Linked DNA regions of Homo sapiens: regions 1, 2, 3, 4, 6 and 7 are each linked to region 5. The links are contacts of gene promoters, found by promoter capture Hi-C in blood cells and fetal thymus (Javierre and others, 2016). All regions are on one chromosome and are shown on one strand. The core of a region is centred on a gene start or on the middle of the fragment in contact, and the rest is flanking DNA. Distances in the headings are between cores, read along the strand shown. Region 1 overlaps SNX5 (sorting nexin 5). Region 2 has its middle 2.6 kb from the start of KAT14. Region 3 overlaps RRBP1 (ribosome binding protein 1). Region 4 holds the start of ZNF133 (zinc finger protein 133). Region 5 holds the start of ESF1 (ESF1 nucleolar pre-rRNA processing protein). Region 6 has its middle 4.5 kb from the start of SMIM26. Region 7 overlaps DSTN (destrin, actin depolymerizing factor).

Region 1 (4,127 bases), core at 1,535-4,034, 4.2 Mb after region 5:
TAACAGAAGATCTCAGTCTACTAACATAGCTAATAGCTATTAAAGCTACTCAGGCATCGGCTTAATAAAAAACTAAAGGGCTGCAGCAAGTGATCAGATTTTCACCACTCATCTTTGTGAGATGGGTCTCAGAGGGCCCCGTCCCTGCTGACACCAACCATTCTTACCGGTAGCCTGCCAACACACAAGCAGTTCACAGTAGAACACTGCAGACTGCAGGGCATTTTCAGGCTACATAGCCTCAAGTTCCTAGAACAGGAACTGAGGCTTGGAAGAAGGTCAGTGCAGCGCACTCAGCGAATGGATAAACTGAATCATCATTTCACAAGGCTGCAAGCCCATGTACTAATGGAATCAACATGGAACCAGAGTTAAATTACTGCCTTAAATATCTAATGCATGTCAAGAAATCCATCTAATTACTAAGTACCGAAATTATAATACTTTCAAATGAATTCACAAAGCAAAACAGCTGAACTAATGATCTGTAAGGATCTCCTGGCAGATAAATCCTACTGGGAATCAATACACCACTGCTACCAAGAAAGCAGGTCCAACAAATGAATAAAAGAAACCCAGCCAGGCAGAGAGGTTCTTGTCTGTAATCCCAGCACTTTGGGAGGCTGAGGCAGGAGGATCGCCCGCGGCCAGGAGTTTGAGACAAGCCTGGGCAACACAGCAAAGCCTTAAAAAAAATCACCTAGGCTCGGTGGCCTATGCCTTTACTCCTAACACTCTGGGAGGCTGAGGTGGGAAGATCACTTGAGCTCAGGATTTTGAGTCTGCAGTGAACTACGATCAGACCACTGAACTCGAGCCTGGGAGCAGGCCGAGACCCTGAGACCCTGTCTCAAAAAGTAAAAAACAGAAATGCCAGTTTCCTTTACTCAGAGCTAAAAGCCTTCACCTACTACCCAATCCCATCATGGCTCCCTCCCAAAAGTTCACTGGCATACCATATCAAGTCAGCAAGCCCCCTTTTTTGTAGCAGGGTCTCACTCTGTTGCCAAGGCTGGAACAAGCCCTCTTCAACAAAGCTAAGATGGTCCATATTACTCATGTGGATGAGGGTGTTGAAGGACATTTACTGCCTTCCTTCATGGTCTCACTTCATGATCAAACCAAGATGCACAGGAAATAGGTTTGACAATTTACCTTTACCAAGAAAGACGATTCAGCAACAGTGGTAGAGCTGCCTGTTTGAACTTAACCTTGGTCATCTCAGTTTGAAATACAAATGGCAGCATGGAGAGCAGGCTGCCCGCTTTTTGGTTGGACATTTCTTTCACTCTTGAGTTTGAGGTACAGCAAATTTCCCAAATCATTCAGATGTAAATATTCCAATACTCAGACCAGGGGCCCATTCAGGAGGCTGAGTGCAGGAAGATGGCCTGAGCTCAGGAGTTCGATACCAGCTTGGGCAACACAGCAAGACTGTCTTGAGAAAAAGAATTCTAAACAAAATAAATACAAGAATTCAAAACAAAATTCATGAAAGATATAGGAAGGGTGAGGGAAGAAGTCCAACATTTTATCACCCACCAGCTACCAAGTATCTAACAGCACAATGTCCTAGCTCTGCGGTGCTCTTGAAAGAAAAAGTGAAAACCCTGACAAGGGAGCCATCTGGATTTGTATTCCTCACCATTTACCATGACTAGAATGCTTAGGAGTGTGCCCTTCAGAAACTGAGCTTTTCAGGCAGAAAATTAGTTTTCTCTCCAGACCATATAGGAATGCCTAAAAAAGTTATGCCAAAATGTAAAAAGAAGAGTCAAGCCAAGGACCCCCATTTTTAAACTTAAGTGTTGGCTGCCCCTCAAACTGCAACTTACTCCTCCTGGGGTACTATGGTTTGCCTTTAGGCAGCATGTGAAGGTGTGAAGATCTCTTTTAGGAGATCTTGTCAGAGTACCTCAATGGCCAATCAGAAAACAGGTATTAAGGGTGAAGAAGCCACTTTTTGGAAAGTTAGATCATGCAGAGAAACTTAATTTACACTTTAATAGCCGTTTCTCACTATTGGGATCATTAAAAGTTAGACTGTTTCCTTAAATACTATTTAACTTCACTACACACTGTTGTGACCACGGGCTATTTAAGACATTCAGGGTACTAACCTATAGATCTGTTCTCACCTAATTTGCTCGAGCATCAAGACCCTGATAATAAAGACAGAAAAATGCTGAAACAGCAGAATTTTAAACCAAGTTCCCCTCTGCAGCACAAGAAACTCAGGTAAGTTTCCAGTGTCCAAAGCCTACACTCACAAACACAAACACGAAGCCCTCCCTTTGCAACCCTCAAGTACCCAGAACCTGCTGAAGAAAACCATCTTTCACCACCTTTTGTTAAGGTTCCTCAGTATTAGTGGAAAAGCTTTATTCTCACAAAGATATCCAACAATGCTAATTTTTACATGGCATGTTATTTCCTTAGGCAAGATTAATAGAAAACCTGAAAAATTCGCAACAAGCACACAAAGACTAGCTTCTGTAACACAACCTGACCCCACCCATATCACACCATTTTAGAAGGAAGTCCGTTTAAACCAGTGATTCTCAAACAGGCAATTTTGACTTCTTATCACCATGGGAGGGGAGGAGGCCGCGTCCTAGCAGAGGCCAAAAACAGTTGCTTCACATCCTACAACCCAGAGGGCACTCCTCAACAAAAGTGATCAGGCTAAAATGTCAACAGTGCTCCCCAGGTTGAGAAACTGAATTTTAAACTCAACCTCTAGTTTAGATGACCACTAGGTCTCACCGAATGAGGAGTTTACAGCTCAGAAACAAATCTAGAAAACTTAACAGCCTTGGCCAAGCACAATGGCTCATGCCTGTAATCCCGGCATGTTGAACTGGATGGTGAAACCCCATCTCTACCAAAAAATACAAAAATTAGGTGGGCATGCTGGTGTGTGCCTGTAGCCCCAGCTACTCAGGAGGCTGAGGTGGGGGTGATCACCTGAGCTCCCCAGGTCGAGGCTGCAGTGAGTTGTGATCGTGACACTGCACTCCCGCCTGGGTGACAGAGCCAGACCCTGTCTCAAAAAAAAAAAAAAAAAAGCCTCTTGGCCATTTCTACCTATGGCCAAAATAATGTGAACAGATAATGACCTTTTAGAGTATTCACAAATGGGGATCTTAAGACACCGAGTACAAGTTACTGAACTAGAACTAAGGCGTGGGAAGCTTGATACGTCATACTTCCTCAACTTAGAAAATAGTTGCAAGGGTAGCATAAAGCTTCAGTCCACAAAGTTTGTAAGTTTGGACTTGCTATGGTATTGGTCAAAGTTCAGGATTGTTCCTATACTAACCAACTGCACTCCATTCTAGCTAATGGAGAACAAAAATACCCCTAGAGGCAGCTTCCACACCAGTTAAACACGAAACCAGAGCAGCAGTACTTAGTCTACAAACACTCCTGAGTAGGTAAGAGGACAGATATCATTCACCAAAGTCCCTGTAACCAAGCAGTAAGTTAAGGCCAAGTTGTTACTGTCAAGGAAGGAGAACCCCCTAGTTAAAAATAGCACTAGGCTGCGAAGGTCGAGTTCAAATACCAGCCTGGCCAACATGGTGAAACCCGGTCTCCACAAAAATACAAAAATTAGCCGGGCATGGCGGTGAGCGACTGTAATCCCAGCTACTTGAGAGGCTGAGGCAGGAGAATCGCTTGAACCCAGAAAGCGGAAGTTGCAGTGAGCTGAGATCGAGCCATTGCGCTCCAGCCTGGACGACAGAGCGAGACTCCGTCTCAAAAAAAAAAAAAAAATCAAAAACCAGTAAATAGAGGACCAGTTAGGAACCAAATTAACCATGCATCTCTTCCCCTGAACTATTTTCTGAGGAAGAAGGCAAACCCCAACACCCTCGGCTAAAGAATGTAACAAAATGCCAGTGTCTGGCTACCAGACACGACTGACACAGTATTCCCTTTCAGTTTTGCTGAATTGGCCAAAATGAGTATTGGGCTAGAATTCAAAATCCTGAAGAATCAAGTATGTCCCCCTACCTTAGTGAGTCTTAATTAACTCCATCCTTAGGGAGAATTCCAAACCAAAGTAAATTATCAGGAGGGCATTTAAACAATTTAAGTAACACACATTTCAGGTAACACAC
Region 2 (4,106 bases), core at 1,607-4,106, 4.4 Mb after region 5:
GAAAATAGACAAGTGCTAAACAAGAAAAACACACATTGATGAGGGTCCGTCAGAGAAGCAGAGGAGCTGAAAGATCTCCCAACGGCCAAAGCGGGAGCCATCTGAGCAACAAAATAAAGTAATATTGGATTATAACCCAAAGTATAAAATAAATACCCACCAGTCCACACTGATAGAAACAAATGATTGAATCAGTTACTAAATGGGAGAGAAGAGACAAACCTGTGCAGAATTTCAGATTACTTATATAGATACTGCATTGAATTCATGGTGATTAATTCCAGTACCAGAAGAAAAACTGGCTGTTTTGGAGTTCCTGAGAAAATATCTATTTTCTTCAACATGTCACCTTCCTAAAATGTTTTCAAGGGTAGTTTTAACTGTTTTTGACTTTTTCCTTATGTGCTGACTTCAGAGCCTCAGCCTGAAGAAGGTGGGATTTCGTGGCCTTGTCTGCCTATAGAGCCCACTACAGGGCCATACACAAGGCAAGCCTTCTTGCTTGCATTTAAAATAGTCATAATGGTGCTTTATGCGGTGCCATGTGGTGTGATGTTTCTGTAATCATTTAGTGCTGAGACTGATAAATTTATCAGTCACTGGTGCCAGTTCAGCTGACACCCTCCACCTTCTTCCCAAACAAACCTCCTCCTTCCCACCTCCTCCTTCTCTCTCAGCCCCAATGATGACAAGCTTCTGATCATTGCCTGAAGCCTCTGCCTTGACCTATTGCATTCATGCCCACCATCAAGCCCAGTTTAAACCCGTGCCTCCTACTGATACCTCCTGCTAGGGTACTAGTGATTTACTATTCTTTAAGACAGAAGTGACCCGAAACCCAGCTCTCCCAGGATAGCTGCCAGGACCTGGCCATGATTCAAGCCCAAATAACATAAGCCAAATTACACACTCAGTGAGGAAGGCATTTTTTTCAAGTCCCCACCCTTGTGTGAGTGAAGGTGGAACAAAGATTGTGTGACCATGTTGTTCAAACACAGGAAAATGACTGCATTCCCTCCCCTTAGTTTTCATTTGTTGATTCTTCTCCAAGCCCTGACTTCCAACTGTACTTCTTTTTTGATGCTGCCTCTTGCTTAGAGGATTCTGAAGGGAAGGACAGGGTAGTATGCTGTTCTAAAGAGTATGGGACTTTATCCTGTAGGCATGGGGAGCCACTGAGCGGTTTTTAAGGTGGTCAGCTTCCTATTTTTGTCTTTGGAGGTAAGTTCACTCTGAAGGCCAGCCAATGGCAGGGCAAGGCACCCACTGTCCTCTCCAGGAAAGCAGTGGCCATTCTGGGCACACCTAAGTCAATCCAAAGCTGAGAGGGGCAGGAACTGATGTGATCTTAGGATGCCGAGACACTAGAATATAGCCAGATACACAAGGTTCAGATGTTCTGGCCTTACAAGCAAATTGTATTAAATCAGCCATGCTTCCTAAGCTTCGTCCCACCTTGGTAAACATAAAAAATAAGGATATCTGTACAACTCACTGGGATCAACTTGCGTGAGCTTGGATAATTCTAAAAGGAGCTTCATGGATAATAATTATTTACATTTCCTTTATATGGTACTCTTATAAAAAAGAAAAAGAAAAACAAAAAAATAAATGACATATAATTATGAGAAGAAAAATAAAAGCAAATCTTGGGGTAGATTTAAATATCAACTTTGGGTAAAATTTCCTGATAACATTCTTCTTGGAGTCTCTTTTAAATATCAAGTTTTGTGTTAAAAATAGTTCCTGATCATTGCTCCTGCACATAGTTCTTGATCAAGATTTTTTTTTTTTTTTTTTTTTTTTGAGATGGAGTCTCACTCTGTCACCCAGGCTGGAGTGCAGTGGTTTGATCTCGGCTCACTGCAACCTCCACCTCCCGGGCTCAAGTGATTCTCTTGCCTCAGTCTCCCAAGTAGCTGGGATTACAGGCACCCACCACCACACCTGGCTAATTTTTGTATTTTTAGTAGAGACGGGGTTTCATCATGTTGGCCAGGCTGGTCTCGAATCCCTGACCTCAAGTGATCCACCCTCCTTGGCCTCCCAAAGTGCTAGGATTAAAGGTGTGAGCCACCACGCCTGGCTGATCAAAATCTTTTTAAATGATCATCTCTTTAATTTTTGATAGTTACCATGGAGAAAAAACTTTTTTTTTTTTTTTTTTGAGTTGAAGTCTCACTCTGTCACCGAGGCTGGAGTGCAGTGGCTCACTGCAACCTCTGCCTCTCGGGTTCAAGCAATTCTCCTGCCTCAGCCTCCCAAGTAGCTGGGATTACAGGCATGCGCTGCCACATTTGGCGAATTTTTGTATTTTCAGTAGAGACGGGGTTTCACCATATTGGCCAGGCTGTTCTCGAACTCCTGACCTCAAGTGATCCACCTGCCTTGGCCTCCCAAAGTGCCTGGAATACAGGCATGAACCACCGTTCCCAGCCAAAAAGCTATTTGATACAAGAAGTGATGATAAAATGTAAAGCCATCGGCTATGAACCAATGGGAAAAAAAAGAAAAAAACACACAATAAAAAATCAAAAGGAAATAAAGACAATAAAAGAAACAAAAAAGAGCCATTTTTTTTCTGTTCGTATAGTTATGTAAGATTTTGTATAGAAGTGTATCATGCATGTATGTGTGACCACACAGCCTTGGTGTGCCACTGGACCAATTTTCACAAACACCCAGTACCAGCACCCAGTACTAGAGTTCTAGATCAGCCTAGCCAACATGGTGAAACCCCATCTCTACTAAAAATACAAAAATTAGTGCAGCCTGGTGGCTCAGGCCTGTAACCCCAACTACTCCAGAGGCTGAGATACAAGAATCGCTTGAATCTGGGAGGCAAAGGTTGCAGTGAGATCACCCCACAGCACTCCAGCCTGGGCGACGGAGTGAGACCCTGTCTCAATTAAAAAGAAGAAAAGAAAAGAAAAAGAAAAAAATAGTTGCTTCTCAGTTTGATGATATGCAGTCACTCTCACAAATCAGTAATTTATGCGACAATAATCACGGAAAATATACTGCTTAGGCTTATAAATATTTAAACAGATAAACATACTTTTTTTTTTTTGCAAGACCTCCCTCAGTCCCCCAACCCACTTTTTTATTTGACACAGTTAATAATAAATGATTTCTTAAAAGTAGAATACTTTTTTTTTTGCTTCTAGTATCCTGAAAATAAAGAAAAGAGTACATTTCAAGAAAACAAGTTGAAAAATTAGTCACAATAAAATGAAAGGCGATTGATCTAATTCCCTGATGTACACTCTAAGGACATACAGCTCTGTTGAAGGCTCACTGATTTACAGGGGAAAATATCTAGGATATACCACGAATAAAAAGAAGTCTAATATAATTTTTAAAGAGAAATATGCAAATACACCCTGAACTGAATTTCTTCTCAAAGTTCATTACAGCAAGAACTCCATTTTCCAATTCAGTGGTACATTCTCTCTAGGCTGCAAAAAATGCTGTGGACAAAATGACATTTGGAAAAGGTATCTTTAAAGATACCTTTAAGAGCAATAGTCCCCTTATGCCATTTACGCTCACATAAGAGACTGGAATAGCAAAGCACTATGAACAGTAATGAATGTTGTAAAACTCCCTGGTGAGGCTTAATCAATACTGCCTATAGCCGTGTCCACCGGAAGAAGCTCGTTCTCTGTGAATTCTAGTGGGAAAGAATGATTGAATGATGAACACGTTTTCACTGGTTGCTCTATCAGATACTTAAAAGTTTCTGGGAGGCCTTGCCTTTTTTACCCGAGGAAGAAGTGAAAATGCGTCTTGCACAATTGCTTAACTATTCCCAACGCAAGACTTCTTTATATCATTTATTTCCCTTGTATTACTGGCGCGGAAACTTGGGTGTAAAAGTGATCACAAAGATTACATGGGGCCAGGCGCGGTGGCTCACGCCTGTAATCCTCTCGGGAGGCTGAGGCAGGAGAATCGCTTGAATCCGGTAAGGTTGCAGTGAGCCGAGATCGCGCCACTGCACTCCAGCCTGGGCGATAGACAGAGACTCTGTATCAAAATTATAATAATAATAATAATAATAATCCGAGCCTGACCAGTCGCCCCACAGCGTCAAGGTGAAACCA
Region 3 (4,258 bases), core at 1,693-4,192, 3.9 Mb after region 5:
TTTCCCCCAGAGAACCCAAAAATCTAGATTTTGTTTTTGTTTTTTATTATGAGACAGAGTCTCACTCTGTCGCCTAGGCTGGAGTGTAGTATGATCTTGGCTCACTGCAACCTCCACCTTCCAGGTTCAAATGATTCTCCTGCTTCAGCCACCTGAGTAGCCAGGACTACAGGCACATGCCACCATGCCTGGCTAGTTTTTGCATTCTTTATAGAGATGGGGTTTTGCCATGTTGCCCAGGCTGGTCTCAAACTCCTGGGCTCAAGCGATCCACCCGCCTTGGCCTCCCAAAGTGCTGGGATTACAGGGATTAGCCACTGTGCCCAGCCCAAAAAATCTAGATTTTAGTGAAAAAAAAAAAAAAAATTCCACTTTTAAAAGGTGACTCAATTGCTTAATAACATGAGGTCAGTGAAACAAATTCCATGTGAAGGCCAAGTTCAGCTCACACAGGGCACCAGTTTGGAATTCCTCTCAAGACAGCCTAACAGACCTTGTTTGCTTATACCCTAACAGACCTTGTTTGCTTATACCTTGCCCAGGATAGAGAATTAAAGATTTGAATTCAAGATGGTCTTTTATTCCAACTTTTGAGTCAGCAGATGATATTCATTATCACTATAAATAGTCTGTAACTTCCAGTAGTCTTAGTGGGCCTCCTTTCTGACCAGAAAGAGATCAAGTAGCTGTCCATCATTCAGCTTCTTCCTTTAAAGTTAAACTTTGGTTTTATATTATTCTTTACAGAGTACTAATACTAAGATGAGCCCACAAGTACAACCAAGAATTCAAAAATTATTCCCCAGTACTGCCCAATGATCCTTTCGAAGTTATATGGAGGCCGGGCACGGTGGCTCATGCCTATAATCCTAGCACTTTGGGAGGCCGAGGAGGGCAGATCACCTGAGGTCAGGACTTCTAGACCAGCCTGACTAACATGGTGAAACCCCGTCTCTACTAAAAATACAAAATTAGCCGGGTGTGGTGGCGCATGCCTGTAATCCCAGCTACTTGGGAGGCTGAGGCAGAAGAATCACTTGAACCCGGGAGGTAGAAGTTGCAGTAAACCAAGATCACGCCATTGGACTCCAGCCTGGGCAACAAGAGCGAAACTTTGTCTCAAAAAAAAAGAGAAAAAAGAAAAAGAAAAAAAAGTTATATGGAGAATAACAGAGCTGTGTAAATAGTCACTGGTGTAGGAAGCAATTTATGCCACCCAAGAACACTGGAACTCCAATACTTTGGAACTGAAAAGGTTTCGGGACTGGGCAGGTATTCTAGTCTTGCCAAAAAAATCTAAGTTAGAAATCACAAAATGTTCTTGATAAGTTAAAGTTGCTGCCCATTGTTGACAGGTGGAAGACACATGTTACTGAATGCACATAAAGGACACACACGTCTGGTTTTGGGGGTGTCTGGTTGTCTGCTTCAGGAGACTCGGCCAGAATTTGTCTGCCTAAGAAAAGTCTCCTAGGAGGCCCCTGAACTAATTTTCTATATGCTAAGTGAGAGTGCCTCCTTGCCTAGGCACTGTCACTTAAAATTAAATATTTACCTTCCCTTACAAGCCATCACTTTCTACCTAATATCAATTTATTTTCTGTCTTTGTTACAAGTCACCATTTTGATGCTGAGGGCATTGGGTAAAAAATCTCTCCAGGAAAGGGCCACTATCTGTGTGGCCCCCCTCCCACTCCTTTTTCTTGGAATGCAGTTTACAATGCACACAAAGAGGCGGGACTAATGCTTTCTCAGGGTGAGATCTTATCAGGTGAAGTGTATCAACTGCCACTAGTCAACTGGTTTTGACCTACAGAATGGGCAATTTCATGTGGTTCAACATATTACCACATGATCAAGAGGAACAGGGACATGAATGTTTACAGAATACCAGCTGCCTCTACATCAGCACTGTCTAGAACTTTCTGTGATGGTGGAAACCATCTACAGCCACGCTGACCAACTTATGACTACTGAGCACCTGAAATGTGGCTAATTTGACTCAGAAATTGAATTTTTAATTTTACTTAATTTGAATTGTTTTAAACTTAAATTGCTACTTGTGGCTACTGTATTGGACAACACAGTTCTAGACAGTAGCTTTTTCAGGCAAGAACTAGGTCTCACTTGCGGTGTTTGAAGGCCCACCACACAGGAGACCCTCGGTGAAAAAAATGAAATGAAAAATACCTTCAGCACTGCCAGATTTTCAAAATGCCTCCCCACCTTCCTGCCACTGAAGCTCTTAATTTTGATCTTCACGTTCTGTGTCCTCCCTTGGGTAATTATTGCCCCAGGAAGGTGGAGGTATATAGCCAGGAGGGAACATTTGGAAGGCCGGGCCCACATCGCCTAGCAACTGGGCAACAGGAACTGGCCTGACAACCTTCTGACCAGCTGGACCTCCACATTCTCATCCACTGAATGGGTGACAACCATTCCCACCCCCTAGAACAGGGTTATTTTAAGGCCTAAATGTAAACCACAGTTGTGGAATCTGATTCTAAAAAGTGAACCTTAAAAACCAAGTTGGGCTAAGCTTCATTTATCCAATGAGACAGCTGGGAATAGTTTAACAGGTATGGGGGCGCTGTCCGCCTGGTATAACCAATATTTATGATGTTATAGGCCAGGCCTTAACCACTGCAGGCCCAGCATGCACAGACGGACAGCACAGTCCCTGCCTTCATCATTCTGACTTGACCATTATTTTTGTTTCTCCTGAAACAAGATTTTAGCAAAGAAAAACTTGCTGTCTCAACAGAACTGTTGATCCTCTATGTGTCATTCATCTATTAGTTAAAATTCCCAGGGCTAAAAAGACAAGAAGAGTCTGGGGTCCCGACACTTTTAAAAGGTGTCCCTGCTACATAATAAATCAATACTCCAATTCAATCACTGGCATTCAACCATTTAAACTGAGTTTGCTGCTATGTAATTATTGCAGCCTGTTGAGTTAGGGCTCATTTCATTAAAGAGCATAATTGCTCAAATGTGACTTGATTTAAGATTTATTTAAAACTCTTCCATCACCAAAAAATACTCATATACCATGAACCACTGTAACTTCTTAATCTCTCTGTAAATGTTCAGAGGCAGATTCCTAAGTATGAAAGGTGAGAGTTGTTATAGTGCCTAGAGCTCTAAACCCTCTCCTAAACCCCAAGATCCCTTTCTGGTTTCCCCTCCCCCAACCTTAGCCTCCTCCAGGCCTCCACTGGCCCAAGATCCCTGCAAGCCGGCTTTGCGGTGCTCCATGTAAAAGGAAAACTTCACCTACTAGGAGGTCTGCCCCGGCCTTTGCTTCAACAGAGAGGGAAATGGCACCTCCAGGACCTCAGAACCGGAAGCTTCTTTCTGGAAGGGAAAGAGGTTGGCATATGATAGTGGGAGTGACCTTTGGCAAGTTCGTAAACGAGTCAAGACATCACACAGTAAGTGACATGCTGCAGGGTCACAGATTTCTCTAGGTGTCGGATTAACAGGAAGTTAAATCAAACAAGGAGTGTGAGGAGGGAGGCGGGGCAGTGGGAGAATGCCCCCCAGCTGCACAGGGCGGGGTAACATTCGCAGTTGTTCTTCCTGGGAGTGCCAGACAGACGTCCTGGGTCTCTGGGGACACCCAGTTCTGAAGAGGTATCTAATGTGAGATATGAGGCCCTACCAGGCCCATTTCTCCAAATTCCTGAAAATGCCATCCAGATGGCCCCTACCCTGAAGGTTCCAGCACGCAGAGTGAATAGCTGAGCAGTGACGTGGGAGGCTCCTCAGGTCCCTCAGAGTTTCATTTCCTTGGTGCTTCCCAGTCTCTCCTAACCTCTGACCTCTCAGAGTAATTGCCAAATTGCCTTCTGTTTGTACAAGGTCCCAGCACTTCCCGGCGTGGTTCCCGACCCTGTGAGTGGGTGGTGCTGTCTTCAGGCCACAGATAAGAAACTAGGATTCAGAGGGGCTATGGGACCTGCGAGTAGGCGGCCAGTACGTGGTCCGGGGTGTAGAACCCCGGCTGTGCAACTTCTGCAGCCCCGCGCCCGCCGCAGTGCCGGAGCCAGGCCCCACCTTCCTCCCGTGTCCAGCACCCCCCAACAAAAGCATCCCAACTGAACAGCCAACACTTGTGGCTCCTTCCTACAAGTGCTGGGTCTCCACAGCTTTCCTCGCAAATCGAAGCTAACAGGAGCCCCGATTTGCAGACCAGGAAATGGAGACCCCGAACGAAACAACTTGGTCGGGGTCACCCTCGCCAGCCGGGGCACTC
Region 4 (3,804 bases), core at 620-3,119, 4.5 Mb after region 5:
CCAGGCTCCACTGCAAACTCATTTCTTGGGGTGGTGTTCAGGCATTGTATTTTTAAAAGCTTCCAAGTACAGCCAGGGTTAGAAGAGTCTCAAGTAGTCACTATAGTATAGTGATCAGGGAAGGTTTCACGAAAGAGAGCTAGGTATTTGGTCTTGAAGGACCAGATGGATTCAGAGGAGCTAAGGGTATTCCAGATGAGGTATGGCATGGAGTGGGTGGGAAATGCCAGGAGAAAAAGAGGACATGGCAGCAAAGAGTGTTTTAGAAAGCAGGCAATCCAGATTTCTAGATGGAAACTCCTAATTATTAAATGCTGAGGTCTGTCAAAGATGAAACTGGAGGCTGGACACACCAAATATCTGTATGACAGAGCTGTACATCTAGACGGTGGACATCTAGCATCCCTGTCTATATGCAAGTCAGCTGGCTGCAAGACCACGTGCTGCTGAAAATCTCACTGTGGTCATGACAGTCCACCCAGTGGCTCAGACCCTGAGATTCTGTTCACACTTCCTACACTCTTCCTTACTCGTCTGTGTTCTTCCAACTCCTCATCTTGCCTAATTCCTCAGGCAGCACCTCATCCTGTAAGTCTTCATTTCCAGGCTTAAGAGATGTCAGCCATCTGTGTCTTTATTGTACAGCCAGCACAAGTGAACACTTGAACACAGGCATCCCTGCATTGTTGTTCTGAACCTTTATGTGTATTAACAACTAATTTCTTGGTGATGACTGACTCATGAGGCAGAGAATGATGTTGAGGGATGAATCCAATTGACACTGGACATGTCTCCGGAGCCAGGACTGAACTGAATTCACAATAAATAATGTAGCCTCGGGGTACCAGAAGGGAATGGATTCACCCTCTGAGAGCTACAAAAGAATTTTAGGAAATTCTCATCTCCCTGGCCCTTCAGACAGTGGTCATTTTCTTGGTCTTCCAAGAGAATGACAAAGTTTCAGAAAGCCTATCTGAGGAAGGTGAAGGGCAGTGAGAGGGTGCACGGGTGGAAAAGCCCTCTCAAGAGTGACGTGGGCCTTCCCCTCGAGCTCCCCAGATGGGGCGTCCCAGATGGCACCAGCGCAATCTTGTTCTCAACCAGGATCCCGGACAAAGACCTAGAGATCCAAGCCGACGGCAGGCCAAGCTCTGGCCCGAGACTGAGGCTTCTGCTTCTCAGGAGATGAGAGTTTAACAATAACTTCGTGGATTTCAAAAAGAAGAAAAAGGTCTCAGGGCACCGGAAAAGGTGTATTCGGGTTGAGGGCGTGGGCTCAGAATCGGGTCTACCTCGTACGGGATGTGAGACTTCAGGCAGACTGCTCGGCCTTTTCAAGGCTTTAAATGGAGCTAAAGGGTATACGACATGACGTTCGCCCGGTGTTTAGGAATATGGGGCGTGACTTTCCAAGCAGGCGGCTGGAGCCAGGGAGACCACAGGCCGCTGCAACACAAACCAGCACCTGAACAAGCTTGGTCAGCCAGCGGTACACCTCCGCCAACCCCAGAAGCCGAACAGATGCGCCCCGAAACGTCATTTCCGCGCGCCAAGGGGCGGGGCCGGTACCGGGTGCGGAAGTCGCTCCAGGGGTCACTGGGAAGTGTAGTTTTCGAGACAGAGGCGCTCAGAAGGAGGGTCACAGTAGGGCCAGGCACTCTTCTCGGGAGCTCCTACGTGTTTTATGCACGTGGTTAAGAAAAAAGAGGGAGAATTCAGGTGCCACAGTGGCCATTCTCCGGTGACCGGAGCGTGTTACTCAGAAACGGATCCGTCAGAGGCCAATGGGAGCTGCCGGCCTTCAGGGCGCGCCTGGTGGCGCCGAGCATCCTGGGAGGTGTGGTCCGGGCGCTGTGCCGAGGATTCGGGGTAGTGTAGTCCTGGCGCCCCGCTGGAGGAGCTCCCCAGCTGGTGGCTGGAGCGACCCCTTGTTCTTTGGTGGCGCTGGTGAGTGAGGCTCCCGCGGGACCCTTGCCGCAGCCGTACCCTTTTCTGCGCGAAAAGGAAGGTCCCGAAAGGCTGGACTATGGGCTGAATTTGGGGACCGTGCGGGTGGCGCGGGGGTGGTGATTGTGGTGGGAACGCGCTGGCGTGGCGCAGGCCGTCCTCTCCCAGATGTCTTATTTTGGGGGTGTGGGCGTGCATCTCCAGGGGAGTTGGGTGAAGCCCATCCGTGAAACTGGATGGTGATGAGTGGGGGATCGGGCTCTCTCTCCTAGGGTTCTTGTGGGTGGGGACAGGTTCGGCTTTGGCTGAAGTCGGGTATTGGGAAAGGGAGTCGCTGATGCCATAAGTCCCCGGTTTTGGGGGAGTTGAATAAATAAGCTTTTTGGGGGAATGGTATTTCCCAGGTGGTGGAATGGGAACCATCCCTGGGGCCATGTGTCCCCGAGGCATTGGTCGGTTGAGGGCTAGTCTCTTGGGGCCACACTATTCTTCGGCTTTGCTGGAGTGGAATGAGGAGCGGTCTGGCTTGACCAAACAAGCCAAGGTTAGACTGGATCTGGGGTGGCCATTTTGCCGCGATCTTAGGGTTTCACTTTGGTTGGTCACCCCCGGGTTCGGGCGTTGGAGGAGGAAGTCTGGCTGGGACGCACAGGACAGGTTTTTTCCAAAGGTCCCAGGGACCGTCATTGATCGCAAGAATTACGGATTCCCAGGCCCCTGGTGTGGCCAGGCTTTGGGATTTTACATTCCATTTAAGTTTTTATTGCGGAGAAATTTCAAACAGCCAGAAGTAGATAGAACTCTATAGACCAGATCTCCATCACCCAGATTCAACACTTAAAACCTTATGACCAATCTTGATTCATCTCAGAATGGACACAGAGAATCCTTGCAATCCAGAGTTCACCGTCACTGCCCTTACTGTGTAAGAGCACGGTCTCCACAGCCACATTTCCTCTAGGCTCTGTCACTTTATAGCTGTGTCACCTTGGGCAAGATGCTGACTTCACTGTACCTCAGTTTCCTCGATTTTATCCTAAAGAGGATAATAGCATCTATCGTATTGGGTTGTTGAAAGGATAGAATGAGGTGAAACTCCTACAGTGGCTGTAACAGTCTCTGGTGTATACTAAGTGTTCAGTGAATATTACCTTTCATTAATAACAGGCACAGAGAAGGTCGCTTCATGCTCAGCGTCAACAGCATATCAGGGCAGGTCGTGCTTTCAACCTGTACCCCAGCTGTGTTCCCAGGAAGCTGCCCGCAGTTCTTTTCTCCTTTTCTTCTGTGGCAGGTTCATTCCTGATGCTGTTAAGGAATAGGAGGTACTGCCCTGCTGGAGAGGATTTCCCTTGATTTTCTTGAACGCTTTTTGTTCTTGTTCTGCCTCCCTGTGGCTCCTGTCTGCCCAGAGAGGACTGCCTGCTGGGGAAAGGGGGTACTCCTGAGCTCCTGACAGCCCAGCTTCAGGTGGGTGCCACTTACCTTTTGCATTTCGAACCATGAGTGGGTTTCTTTTGCTCAGCTTTGACGTCTGTGTTCTACAATGTCCCATCCAGGGATCAGGGCCCCAGCTGGTTCCTTCAGGAAACTAGGCTTGTTTTAAGAGTGATCATTTTCACAGGGAATATTTTTCAGAGCTGATGCTCTCATTCATTACACCTATATTCTTCCCCTACATTCCTTCTTTCAGTATTTGTTCAGACTGCTCATTCCCAGGGCTTGTCAGGTCCTGTGAAGTTGTTAACATTCTGTTCTTCTGTCTTCCAATACTCTCACTTACTCTTTTCCCTGCTAGAGTTTTGGCAGCAAATCCCAGTTATATCATTTCACCTGGGAACACTTCAGGAGGCATCT
Region 5 (4,165 bases), core at 1,638-4,137:
ATGCCTGGCTATTTTTTTTTATTTTTAGTAGAGATGGGGTTTCACCATGTTGGCCAGGCTGGTCTTGAACTCCTGACCTCAAGTGATCTGCCCGCCTTGGCCTGCCAAAGTGCTGGGATTACAGGCGTGAGCCACCATGTCCGGCCTACTTACCCTCTTTAGACACATCTCTTCTTATCATGTGATGACATATAACACTTTATCTGGTTAGAGAATATAGTTCTCATTAGGGCTCACCACTAATCAAAATCACTGTTTAACTTCAAGATTCAAATTTTCATGTCTGTCTTCTAGCACCACATCAAAAATTAATAATCACTGCATATTTCTTTTATAGCTTTGTATTTCCAGATAAGCATTTGACCATTCCATAATACTATGAAAATACTTATTAATGTGTTTACATTTTTGAAAGATCAGTATAAAAATAAATAATGTAACACCCAAGAATCTCTAATTTTTTCCAACCTACCTGATTGCATTTCTCTTCTTGTCTTAGAACACTCGATTCTGGGAGATTTCACAATTTCAGAGGTGCCTGAGTCTAATGTCCTTTGTTTTTCTTCGAGAGAAGAGTCTGTAGTATGTTGAACAATGTTTTTTTTCTCTTTCTTATTTTTTTGTGTAAATTCTTTGCTATCCTTCTTCGGACTTATGTTTGAATCTATCTTAAATTTACATGAGGTTTTCATTTTTTTAATTCCTATAGAATTATCTAAATCAGTTTTATTTTCAGAACCCTTGTGATTAGCCTTCTTGGTTTCTTTCTTTTTCTCAACTAGATTTTTTGAATCGATTTCTTTTTTAGTCTGGGTTTTTTTCTTCTTTATTTTCTTTTGACTCAATGCTTTGCTATCTTCACCAGAGAGATTGGAATCAGAATCTGAAAGGTCGTAAAAACGCTTCAAATCCTCTGTAGTGCTATGGCTAATGGGGCGCCCTCTTTTATCCACGGCATAGTTCAACTTGAACTTCTTGTCATGAAACATGGCTCGAAATCTCTTGTCAATTTTGACTTTTCGATCCTTTTCTGGCATTTCCCAAAATCTCGGGTCCTTTGCAACCCGTCTAAACCGCTGGTCACTCATTATTTCTTGTTTGGATGACATTTTTAATTCTTAATCTCGACCAAATGCTTGAAGAAAACAAATACTGAAAAATAAAACAAATGTTTTAATGGTAATAATGGTTAGTACAATAATTAAATGTTTTAAAACACATTCACAATATATTCTAAGTTAATATATTCTAAGTTAAGTGTACATAAAATAGAGGTAACAAGTCTAATTTCATCTCTCCAACGTATTCTGGGTCACATGCAAAAAAGCAGAAACATACCAAAATATCCTCTTTCCATGACAGATCATTTAGAGAAATAAACTTAAGGTAGACAAAGCAGAATCCCAGGGCTTTATGGAGGGGAACAAATGTTTATTCATCCATTGCTCTCACTTAGAATTTCTATTTGTATACCAGTATGTGTTACTAATTGAAGGCAAATGTAGTTAAGATTCCCTAGGCCGAGTGCGGTGGCTCACCAGCACTTTCGGAGGCCAAGGCGGGCGGATCACTTGAGCCCAGGAGTTCAGGACCAGCCTGGGTAACATGGTGAATCCCCACAAGAAATACAAAAATGAGCCCGGCATGGTGGCGCGCGCCTGTAGTCCCAGCTACTTTGGAGGCTAAGGCAAGAGGATCACTTCCACCCGGGAGGTCTTGGCTAGAGTGAGCCTAACGGCACTACAGCACACCAGCTGGGGCAACAGAGTGAGACCCTGTCTACCAAAAAAAAGTAAGAAAGAAAGATTCCCTAGCCTCCGTTGGCCTCATTTGTTTCTTCACATTCTGGTCTCATTCTGCTTACTCCTTATCTCCGGCTACTGCCAACAAACAGCCTTTAGTTCTGTAAGACTAGCATTCTAACTAAACAGACCAAAATCAACTCAGGTTTAGCTAAGAAAGTTTCCTTTTTAAATTCGATCATCCTTCAAAAGTAATAAAAAGTTTAAAAATAAAAAGTAAATTTGAGTCTCCAGGTAAAGTCTCACACCAGTTAATAAATATCACTTCTTTCTATAATATCTGATTCTACCAGTGATGAAGGCCCAAGTGAGCTCATTCCCCCAAAACATACTAGAACATATACATATGTGTGTATAAATTAATATTGTTCCCTTGTGAAAAGTCTCCAATGGTTTAGCATCTCTGGATGGGAATTTTGCAAAGAGCCAAAAGTCGTTGATTATTAAGCAACCCCCCCCCAAAATGATTAAAAGGGCAATATTTCTTATTTAAAAATCAAGTCCTTTTAATTACACTAACTAGGAAAAAAAAGGAAGCTATCGCTGGTGCATTTACACATTTTTCGATGTATTACAGCACTTAACTCTCTGAGCAATCTTACGAGGTAGGTACCACCTCAACCAGGAGAAGTACTGCATGTATTGTAAATGTTTAGAAGGAAAGCACTCATTATATGTCAGATAATCCGAGAGAGGGGAAGGCGACCGGACCTCACTCCCGACACGCGCCCGCATCCCCGTAGCCCACCCTCCCCTTCTGCCCGCTCTCTAATTCGGAGAACACAGGGCTGGCCCCTGAACTAGGGTCTCCTTTCCACCTCCTGTACCGCAGGGGGGCAGCTAACAGACTGATTCGAGAAGCGACCCTGAAAAGGATCGATGAAGACTGAAGAATGAGACCGAAAAAGGCTCAGGAGGAAGGGGCAAAACCCCTCGCAGATCCGAAAGAGATCCTGTTAGAGACTAGTTTTTTCCCCGCGCCACACACACACACGCCCTCAAGCCCTTCATCTCGAGCTCTTCAACTCCAGTCCATCCCCACTCACCGTCCGCAGTCCTACCAAGCCTCACGTGGGGCTCACACCCACAATCCTCCGCGTGACGCTCCGCCGTAATGGCAAGCGAACTAGGCCAAACTACTTGCACGTTCCCTCGAGAAGATCTTTGGAGTAGACACAAAAGCCGCGCTGGCGCATGCGCACAAAAAGCGCCGGCAATTGGGGTCGCAGCTGGAGATGCTGCGGCCGGCAGGGCTCTGGCGCTTATGTCGGCGACCTTGGGCGGCGAGGGTCCCAGCGGAGAATCTTGGCCGTAGGGAAGTCACCTCTGGTGTCTCTCCCCGCGGTAGCACCTCGCCCAGAACCCTGAATATTTTCGACCGGGATTTGAAAAGGAAACAGAAGAACTGGGCAGCCCGGCAGCCCGAGCCGACCAAATTTGACTACCTGAAGGAGGAGGTGAGCCCGCGGGGCGGCGGGGCGGCGGGGCGGGCGACGCGGAGGCTTGTTTTCCTCTCCGCTAGTTCCGGCTAGGCCCCGAGCTCACCCCACCTAGCCGTCTGACCTTGACCAGCAGCCCTGCCTCTTTCGGCCTCTACTGTAATCACGCAAGGCCTGGCCTCGGATATTTGTAACATGCTTTCATTCATTCATGCATTCATTTCGGCAACGTCCTTGAGGCTGAAAGGACCTTATAGAGGCCTCCAGTGAAGCTCCGGAGAGGGAGAGAGTGGGAGAGAAGGTTAGGAGGACCCAAATCATCAGGGCCTTGCAGGATAGGGACTTGGGGTTTTCTTCTGTATCTGCACTGTCCAGCCAGTATGGTAACTGCCGGCCACACATGTGGCTGTTGAACACTTGAAAGGTGACTAGTCCAATTGAGATGTGTTGTAAAATACACACGAGTATAGTGACTTAGTATGAAAAAAGGATGTAAAATAGCTCATTAAGAGCTTTTATATTGATTACATGTTGCAGTGATTATTTTTGATATATTGGGTCACATGAAATATATTAAATATAAATTTAAATTTTTCAATTAAAATTTCTCTCGTTTTTACTTTTTTTCTTATGTGGCTACTAGAAAATTTGAAATTACATATGTGGCTCTCATGATTTTTGGTCAGCACTGCTCTAGGGGAATGTGAAGCTCTTGTTTTAATCAGTGGAGTGATCTGACTTATGTTTTAGGAAGATCAAATTAAGATTTCTGATTTGTCTTGGCTCGTTTGAGAAACCTTTCTCCCTGCCCAGGTGAGCCAGAGACTGAGGGTTTCTACTTTCAGGACACGCATTCTCAAGTTCAGGCCTCAGTAAATTTTTATTCAGGAGTGGAACAAAGTTGGAGTCAAGTATAATGCAACA
Region 6 (4,259 bases), core at 15-2,514, 4.8 Mb after region 5:
CCAAAGTGCTGGGATTACAGGTGTGAGCCACGGTCCCCGGCCTACTATCTGCATTTTCAAGAGGTGTTCCTCTGTATTTGCATGAGTGAAAGATTGCTGTGAAATTTCACATAGAGCTTCCATAAGCTTGATTTCCTGAAACTAGTTAATGTAGATTTATATTTCTTTCATGTTGCTATTAGGCACAGCTTTAGTGGTCGCTTTAAGGTTAGTTTCAGCAAATCTCCATATTCACTTTGGGATTCACAGTAGCCCTTTGGGTACTACTGCGTACTGGGTAAGTATGATATAAATTTGATTGTAACTTCTGAATTAAACAGACTGGACCTATTCTTTAGGACCAGTGCACATACCCCTCATTCCTTCAGCAAGTGTGGATTACCCACCAACTGTGGCCAGTGCTATTCTAATGCTGGGAATGCAGTCAGGACGACATGATTGATGCTGAACCAGTTTCCTCAGTGGTCTCTTGGTTGCAGGCAACAAACACAAGTGAGCTTAAATCAAAAGTGGGTGTTTATAAAAAACGTGTATTGGTAGCTCAGAATTAAAGCAGAGAGTATGGGCCAGGAGCGGTGGCTCACGCCTGTACTCCCTGCACTTTGGGAGGCCGAGGGGCGGATCACAAGGTCAAGAGATCGAGACCGTCTTGGCCAGCATGGTGAAACCCTGTCTCTATTAAAAATACAAAAATTAGCTGGGCATGGCACCGCGCACCTGTAGTCCCAGCTACTTGGGAGGCTGAGGCAGGAGAATCGCTTGAATCTGGGAGGCGGAGGTTGCAGTGAGCTGAGATCGCACCACTGCACTCCAGCCTGTTGACAGCGAGATTCCATCTCAAAAAAAAAAAAAAAAAGCAGTATGTTGTCTTCAGAAGGCCTGACACTGGGACCAGAATGCAGGCAGCCACTTGTTGAGCCTGCCTGGGCTCTTGGCCTTGCTTTTCTTATTGCACACCAGCTGCTTTTCTCACCTTTCTGGAGTAATACAAATATCCCAAGAAGATACTACCTCCCATGTGCAGTGCCAAAGTCTGACCAGCCTCTCCTCAACCTGGTCTTTGGCTTCCACCCTTGCGAGAGACTCAGTTCAGTTTTTATCAGATCCCTGCCTATGGATTATAGAGTACTGCCTCAGTTATGAATAAAGTGGCATTTGTTTCTCATTTAGGTAGTGTTTTCCTGTTCATAGCTGTTGGGACCCTGTGAGTAGAGATGTGATGTGTGGTAGGACAGGAATTGGGCATTTCAGGGTTCCTCTACAGTACTATGACCTTCAGACCCTCATCTTGATTTCTCATTGGTGTCAGTTCCACCATTATGGGTGGCCTGAGCAGTGCTGTGGTGCAGTCAGCCTTAGTGACAAGGATTCCAAAATCACAAGTAACAGCTCCAGATGCTGGTAGCAGAGACTCAGCTTCCCAAGGGATATCAGGTCAAGCATGGATTCGTGCCAATTGGCTGTGTATTCCAGTGGACCATCTTGGTTGGCATCAAACTGATGAATGAGAAGCAGTGTACGACAGTAGATGGGGAAGGTGAGAAGCAAGTGAATCAGAAGTATGGGAGAAATGGGAACAGTAGCATGAACGTTTTGGAAGACATTTCCTAACATGAGGGCTTCCAGAGAAACAAAGGGCAAGGGCTGAGGGGCTGTGGCACTTGGCAGGTGAGAGTTGTTAATAGAGCACACCGAGGATAAACAGCTGAACTTCTACTCTCACCTGGCAGTCTACCCAGGATTCATACACTTGTGGGGCTTAAGGGGACATTTGGGTTAGCTTTCCTTGGGACTTGGCTGGGTTTCTTTGCTAGATCTAATTTATTCTCTTATTTCAGCCCAGCGTTCTCCTGAACTCAAGATCCATGTCCATCTAGCATTGCCACTTGGATATCTAGCCACCTCAGCTTTGTCCATAACTTAAATTGCTGTCATCACCCACAAGGCTGCTCTTCCTTCCGTTCTCTTTCTCAGAGAGTACTCAGTTCCTCAAATTAGGAACCTATCATTCTAGACTTCTCCCTCTTCTTGTTCCTTCTCCTTCCTCCAGCCACCAGGTCCCATCATTTCTACTGCAAATATTCCACTCCATTCCCACCTTCCCATTCCCTTTACCACTACCTTACTTAAATCCTCCATCCTCTTTGCTTATGTAGCCTCAACTTCCTACTCTCTTTGTCTCTACTTGGAGTCCCCTCCAATTGGTTTCTACAGTATTAGCCAGCATGACTTTTTTGAAATTAATTTTTATATTTTTAACAAAGCAACAAATGCATTAAAAAATTAAATAATGATCAAAAGTTTGTAACCAAAAAAACAGTTCCTGCTTTATCCCTCCTTGCTTTCAACTATTAGGTTTTTTTTTTTTTTTTTTTGGTATTTACGTCCACATTTCTAAATAATAAGCTTTTACTAATATCTTTAATTTATCAATCATGTATGGGATTTATTAATGAGGATTTGATCCTCCTTTCCAACTGACTAACCAATAAAACTATTGCATATTTTTGATGAATCAATAATTAATATTTACCCTGTTTTAACTATGCAAACATAGTTTGTTGATAAGCCAAGTAAGTGAGCTATAATTGTTTCTCATATAACTTTTCTTTCTGGAGTTAACTGCACTCTTTTTTTCATTTGCTTTGTTTTCTTGATGTTTCTCTCTCATTCTTTCCACATCCTCTAACCTCACAATATAATTTTCCACACAAACCTTTCCAGTTTCTCTTTTCTGTTTTTAAATCTTGGAGCTCTTTGTCTTCTTGGTACAATCTGGACTGATCACTCTAGTTCTGCTTTGCATCCATTTTTCTTTGCTATTTGCTTTGCCATCCTATAATGGATCTCTGTTTTCTCGATACTGTGTCCCCATAATTCTGAAAAAGGGTATATAATTTTTTGGTGATTTTTCATGTCTGAACATGTCTTTTTTTTTTTGAGACAGTTTCGCTCTGTCACCGAGGCTGGAGTGCAGTGGTGCGATCTCGGCTCACTGCAACCTCCGCTTCCCAAGTTCAAGCAATTCTCATGCCTGAGCCTCCCGAGTAGCTGGGACTACAGGCCTGCGCCATCACACCCAGCTAATTTTGCATTTTTAGTAGAGATGGGGTTTCGCCATATTGGCCAGGCTGGTCTCAAACTCCTGGCCTCAAGTGATCCGCCTGCCTCCACCTCCCAAAGTGCTGGGATTATGGGCATGAGCCAGTGTACCCGACCAGAACATGTCTTTTTCGTATTCTCATACTCAATTACTAGTTGGCCTGGGTACAGAACCCCAGGTTTGATCATTACTTTCCCTCAGAATTTTGAAAGCATCAGTCCCCTGTATTCTAGCAATTCCAATATTTCAGCTGAGAAGTCCTAATCTTTGATTATTACCTGTTTTCTTCTCTCCAGAAGGTCTTAGGACCTCCTTCATCTCTAGTGTTCTGAAATTTTTACAATGATGCACCTAGTGTGGCTTAAAAAAATTGACTAGGCTGATCACTCAGTGGGTTCTTAGTTCATGGAAACTCTTGTTTTGTTCTGGGGAATTTTCTTATTTTTTAGGAATTCCGTTTGCCTTTTAATTTTTTTTCTCTGTGTCTGGAATTCCTAATAGACATTCCAGACTACTTTTTATTATTTTATACTTTTTCTTAACTACTGTTGATCTCTTTGTTTATTTTCTACTTTTCAGGGAGAGGGTCATTCATTTACTTATACACTTGTGAAGGCGGCAAAATTTTACCTATACTTTTTAGGGTTTGTGGCTGGGCCTGAGAATTAAATTGACATAAAACAGATTAGCCAAAGTAAAGTGTACAGATTCTTACATGCACTTGGGAGCCCCCATAGAAAAATGGAGACCCAAAGTGGCAAAACCTAACTGGTTATATACTGAGTTAAACAAAAAGAGGCAATTATGGAAAAGGAACTAAAATGTACAGGAAACCAGAGGAGGATAAGAGTTATTTAAACAAGGCCTGTTTGTATAGAATTATCTCGACCTTGACTCTCCATCTCTGGTGATAAGAATGGTTCTTTCCTCCTGGTATAGGGAGGGCATCTTCCACATGGCAGTTTTATCTCTTGCTTGCTTTTTTTTTTTTTTTTTTTTTTTTTGGAGACAGAGTCTTGCTCTGTCGCGCAGGCTGGAGTGCAGTGGCATGATCTCAGTTCCCTGCAACCCCCGCATCCTGAGTTTAAGCAATTCTCCTGTCTCAGCCTTCTGAGTAGCTGGGATTATAGGCACACACCACCACACCCAGCTAAAT
Region 7 (3,920 bases), core at 128-2,627, 3.8 Mb after region 5:
TAGGGATTTGATACTGTTCAGTTTTTGGTTCTTCTTTGGTTTAATGCTGTAAGCTACAAAGTATCAGCATCTTGAGTCTTTTTAATATCTAATTATTAGAAATTTAATAACATTTTAAATGTATATGCTACTTTATACTGAAAGACTTAATCTAGGGGCTTTGAGTTATGGTACGCTTAAGACCATTCACTCTGTGAAAGTGCTTTGAAGCTGACTAGGGTCTGCTCTAGAGACTTCTGATTTGACATTATGCTTTTTTATTGAGTGGCTAATACAGACTTTATTTTTCTGTTTGAAAATAAGAGACCAAACATTTTACCTTTAGTTAAATGCTTAGTTTTAGTTAAAGCTTAACTAAATTCAAGGAAGGAAGGGTCTGTTATATTTCCTGGTTCTTGTGAGGAGTGGGAGAAATAAAAATTAGAAATGAGCGATTTCCAAATACGCTTCAAAATTGTTGGCTTTAGGGAGATCAAGAAGACCTTACAAGTTACTCTTAGAGTTCAGATTATAGACCCCCCATTTTTAAAGGTTATTTTTGTTTTTAGCCTTATGAGCGCAGGAGCATCTTTGTTTAGTTCAGTGATTAGAGAATATTGTGGGTATTATCCCAGAGTCTAGCACTTTGCTTTTAGCTCTTTTGGTTAGATGCTTGGTTCCAAGTTTCTTTTAAGATTAAATTTTAACTACCGATGGGTTTGTTCTAAATTAGCAGAATCACTTCCTTGTACTCACCAAGTCTTTTAGAAGCACCTGAAATAAAGCAGTTTGAAACCAGCTGGGCGCTTCAGGATGAGATTAGATGTTTTCAGATGTCTCCTCCAACAAAAAACAAACAACGTCTGCCTCCACGTGAACCACAATTACAGACCCCAAACAAAACGTGTGTGTGTGTGTACTGGGTGTGCCAGCCTCCTTATACAGAGATTGTTTAGTAGCCCATCATCAAGTTACTAAGGTTATTTGCTCAGTAGTTCTACTGGATATGGATTGAGACATCACACCTAGACTTGCCTAGCTCCTCTTGTAACCAGAGTATCTTTTATGCTTCTTGGAAAGTAAGAGTGTAGTCTTGCCCCTGAAGTAGAGTTAAAAGGTTTGCACGATAATCTAACCCTTAACCTTATCCTAATCTGGACTGTGGTCTCACAGACTGAACTAATTGGCGCAGTATTCAAGTATTCTAATACTTGGTGATTAGCAAAAACACTACAACCCAGTGAAATAGGTTGGGCATGTATTCACATGCCTATTTAACATATGAGAAAACAGATTGTAAAGGATTAATTGACTTGAGACAAATCACCTTTTCCAACTCCAAGTTTTAAAATAATAATTTTGAAACATTTTAAGCAGAAAAGTACACAGAATAACAGATCCTTTTGTACAGGAAAAACAGGGCTATCTTATTGCCATATTTCAGGTTTTTATGTTATCATTACAGCTAAATATGCATCATCTTCCTCATCCCACTCCCTTCCCTCCCTAGAGTTATAACCATTCCTGTGTCAAAGACATAATATCCTGGCTGGTTAAGGAGATGATTTTATTCAGGCTATTGCAATTAGGAGAGCATTCCTGATTGCCTTATTTGAAAATATGCAACAGGCCAGTTCTTTGCAGTTACCTGTTTCCCAGAACACAAAACGGTGGGGTGGATTAACCATCACTGCTTTCTGAGAACACAGAGCTCAGGTAAAGTTCACAGTAGTCACCTGAAATTGATATTCATTGATAGTTCCATACTTTTAGCTACTTAATCATTCATATGTATTGCCTTGATGTGCTTTTAAAACTTACGTAAATACTGTGCTTCATGTATCCTTTTGCAGCTCTGTGAGAAAAAATTAAACTTTGTGGGGGTGGTTTTTTTTTTCCCAGGGGAGGGCAGCTTTTGGATTTATTTGTAGCTTTGGTTCTTCAACTGCTGAATTGTGTTCTTTTGTATGATTGTGCAAGTTTATCCATTCCCCTGTTGATAGACATTCAGCCATTTCCTAATTTTTTGCCTTTTTTTGGTCTATTTAAAGTTTTTATAATAGGCAATTTCCATGTCATATATTGCTATATATTACTTCTCTAGCCCCAGTGTGTATCTCTCCATGGTGTATATCTAGAAGCGGAAGCCCTGGATTGGAGCATACATATTTTCTACTCTACTACTGGTTCGTTCTGGTTGTATCTCATCATTAACAGCTTGTTTCTACATTGCCTTTCACCACTTAATAAGAGACTTGAAACCTTTGCCAGTCTGATGGTTGTGAAATGGTTTCTCATTATTTTATTTTGCATTTCTTTGATTACTAGTGAGCTGACTCTTTTCATATGTTTATTGCATCTTAGGTTTTTACACGCATGCTGCATCCTGCAAACCTGGCCATTCTGTAAATACTTACCATCTTCACCTAAGCTTATTTGCAGAGCCATAAAGTAAATGTAGCAGTAAAAAAAAAAAAAAAAAAATCAGCTGGATACAGTGGCCTATACCTGTCATCCCAGCACGTTGGGAGGTTGAGGCAGGAGGATTGCTTGAAGCCAGGAGTTGGAGACCAGCCTGGACAATATAGTGAGACCTTGTCTGAACAAAAAAATTAAATAAAAATTAACTGGGCATGCTGGCATGTGCCTATACTCCTAGCTATTTGGGGGACTGAGGTGGGAGTATTGCTTGAGCCTGGGTGTTAGAGGCTTCTGTGAGCTATGATTGTACTACTGCACTCCAGCCTGGCCACAGCGGGAGACCCTGTCTCAAAAAACAAGAACATGATTATCAATACCAGAACCTCATACTGAGGAGTAATATTTCTCTTTTCTGGCACATAAATTTCTTTCCAGGCCCCTTAGCCAGCTAATTACCAGAAGTTCAATACTCTCTGTTAATTCTATCCACCTGCCATTTTTAGGCCCCTGGTAGTGGTAGAATGTAGAGTGACTTAGGACAGAGTTCTTTCCTTCTTTGCCAAGGGCTGTGGAGATTAATGTCCTTCACTTTACACTTACCCCTCTCTTTCCTGGCAGTTCTTCTAGCCAAAATGTAAAAGCACACACAGTAGATATATGGGAACAATGCACTTCTGCTAAAATTTGCTGTGTACCTAAAACTTCTCTAAAAAATTAAAAGTCTATAGCTGGGCGTGGTGGCACGTGCCTGTAATCCCAGCTACTCAGGAGGCTGAGGCAGGAGAATCGCTTAAACCCAGGAGGCGGAGGTTGTAGTGAGCTAAGATCGCACCATTGCACTCCAGCCTGGGTGACAGAGCGAGACTCAGTCTCAAAAAAAAAAAAAAAAAAAAAATTAAAAGTCTAAAAAACAAACATGCAAAACAAGTAAACATGACTGACTTTCTTTTCTTTCTCCTTTCCTTTCCTTTTTTTCCTTTCTTTTTTCTTTCTTTTCTTTTTCTTTTCTTTTCTTTTGTTTTTTTTTTTTTTTTTTTTTTGAGACAGACTCTCTTGCAGCCACCCAGGCTGGAGCTCAACTGCAGCCTTGATCTCCTGGGCTCAAATGATCCTCCCACCTCAGCCTGCGGAGTAGCTGGGACTACAGATGTGCACCACCACACCCAGCTAACTTTTTAAAATTTTTTGTAGAAATGAGATTTTGCTACATTGCCCAGACTGGTCTCAAACAATCTTCCCGCTTTGGCCTCCCAAAGTGTTGGGATTACAGGCATGAGCCATTGTGCCTAGTGACTATTTTTCATAAATAGAATTTGTTTAAATCAAAATTGTGTTTAACTTAGTATACAGGAAGACTTCAAATTTTTGAGTTTTTATGTTAATGTAACTTTATATTTTCTTTCAGTAATATTTGAGATGAAGCACACTACATTTGAAATTTGAAAAAAAACTTGCAAGTCTTGAAAAACTGAATTTAACATACAAATGCGTTGATTTTGTCCACAGAACAACACTCTAGT

The links. Contacts are between HindIII fragments. The CHiCAGO score rates a contact against its expected background, and 5 or more counts as called.
Region 1: a fragment that was not itself captured here is called in contact with the fragment with the promoter of ESF1 in region 5 in 3 of 17 cell types (total CD4 T cells, non-activated CD4 T cells and naive CD8 T cells); the score reaches 8.2 in total CD4 T cells.
Region 2: a contact is called between a fragment that was not itself captured here and the fragment with the promoter of ESF1 in region 5, in 3 of 17 cell types (non-activated CD4 T cells, naive B cells and total CD4 T cells). The highest score is 7.5, in non-activated CD4 T cells.
Region 3: a contact is called between a fragment that was not itself captured here and the fragment with the promoter of ESF1 in region 5, in 1 of 17 cell types (naive CD8 T cells). The highest score is 5.1, in naive CD8 T cells.
Region 4: a contact is called between the fragment with the promoter of ZNF133 here and the fragment with the promoter of ESF1 in region 5, in 4 of 17 cell types (total CD4 T cells, non-activated CD4 T cells, naive CD8 T cells and 1 more). The highest score is 8.6, in total CD4 T cells.
Region 6: a contact is called between a fragment that was not itself captured here and the fragment with the promoter of ESF1 in region 5, in 2 of 17 cell types (total CD4 T cells and naive CD8 T cells). The highest score is 6.6, in total CD4 T cells.
Region 7: a contact is called between a fragment that was not itself captured here and the fragment with the promoter of ESF1 in region 5, in 1 of 17 cell types (total CD4 T cells). The highest score is 6.0, in total CD4 T cells.

Annotation. Positions count from the first base shown.
Region 1 is chr20:17,962,621-17,966,747 of GRCh38, forward strand. All of the region lies in intron 1 of SNX5 (sorting nexin 5), which reads right to left. SNORD17 (small nucleolar RNA, C/D box 17) reads right to left here and starts at 326; the gene lies at 90-326. RefSeq lists an enhancer at 3,590-3,669. The HindIII fragment of the contact is 815 bases long and covers 2,378-3,192 here.
Region 2 is chr20:18,133,253-18,137,358 of GRCh38, forward strand. It overlaps a transcript of KAT14 not described here. Among named protein-coding and RNA genes, the nearest start is that of KAT14, 2.6 kb to the right of the region's middle. The HindIII fragment of the contact is 2,828 bases long and covers 1,443-4,106 here.
Region 3 is chr20:17,676,719-17,680,976 of GRCh38, forward strand. It overlaps RRBP1 (ribosome binding protein 1), which reads right to left. Exons shown (of 25, transcript NM_001365613.2): 2 at 3,281-3,357. Among named protein-coding and RNA genes, the nearest start is that of RRBP1, 3.4 kb to the right of the region's middle. RefSeq lists enhancers at 2,818-4,017, 4,209-4,258. The HindIII fragment of the contact is 811 bases long and covers 2,538-3,348 here.
Region 4 is chr20:18,286,658-18,290,461 of GRCh38, forward strand. ZNF133 (zinc finger protein 133) reads left to right here and starts at 1,870. Exons shown (of 7, transcript NM_001352452.2): 1 at 1,870-1,947. RefSeq lists enhancers at 1,443-1,492, 1,572-2,477, 1,583-1,922, 2,483-2,602. The HindIII fragment of the contact is 851 bases long and covers 1,473-2,323 here.
Region 5 is chr20:13,782,032-13,786,196 of GRCh38, forward strand. It overlaps ESF1 (ESF1 nucleolar pre-rRNA processing protein), which reads right to left and starts at 2,888. Exons shown (of 14, transcript NM_001276380.2): 1 at 2,849-2,888; 2 at 473-1,152. The coding sequence starts at 1,109. NDUFAF5 (NADH:ubiquinone oxidoreductase complex assembly factor 5) reads left to right here and starts at 2,997. Exons shown (of 11, transcript NM_024120.5): 1 at 2,997-3,259. The coding sequence starts at 3,038. RefSeq lists enhancers at 2,933-3,222, 3,218-3,907. The HindIII fragment of the contact is 9,427 bases long and covers 1-4,165 here.
Region 6 is chr20:18,569,832-18,574,090 of GRCh38, forward strand. No RefSeq gene overlaps it. Among named protein-coding and RNA genes, the nearest start is that of SMIM26, 4.5 kb to the left of the region's middle. The HindIII fragment of the contact is 2,280 bases long and covers 125-2,404 here.
Region 7 is chr20:17,571,453-17,575,372 of GRCh38, forward strand. All of the region lies in intron 1 of DSTN (destrin, actin depolymerizing factor), which reads left to right. Among named protein-coding and RNA genes, the nearest start is that of DSTN, 3.3 kb to the left of the region's middle. The HindIII fragment of the contact is 2,061 bases long and covers 348-2,408 here.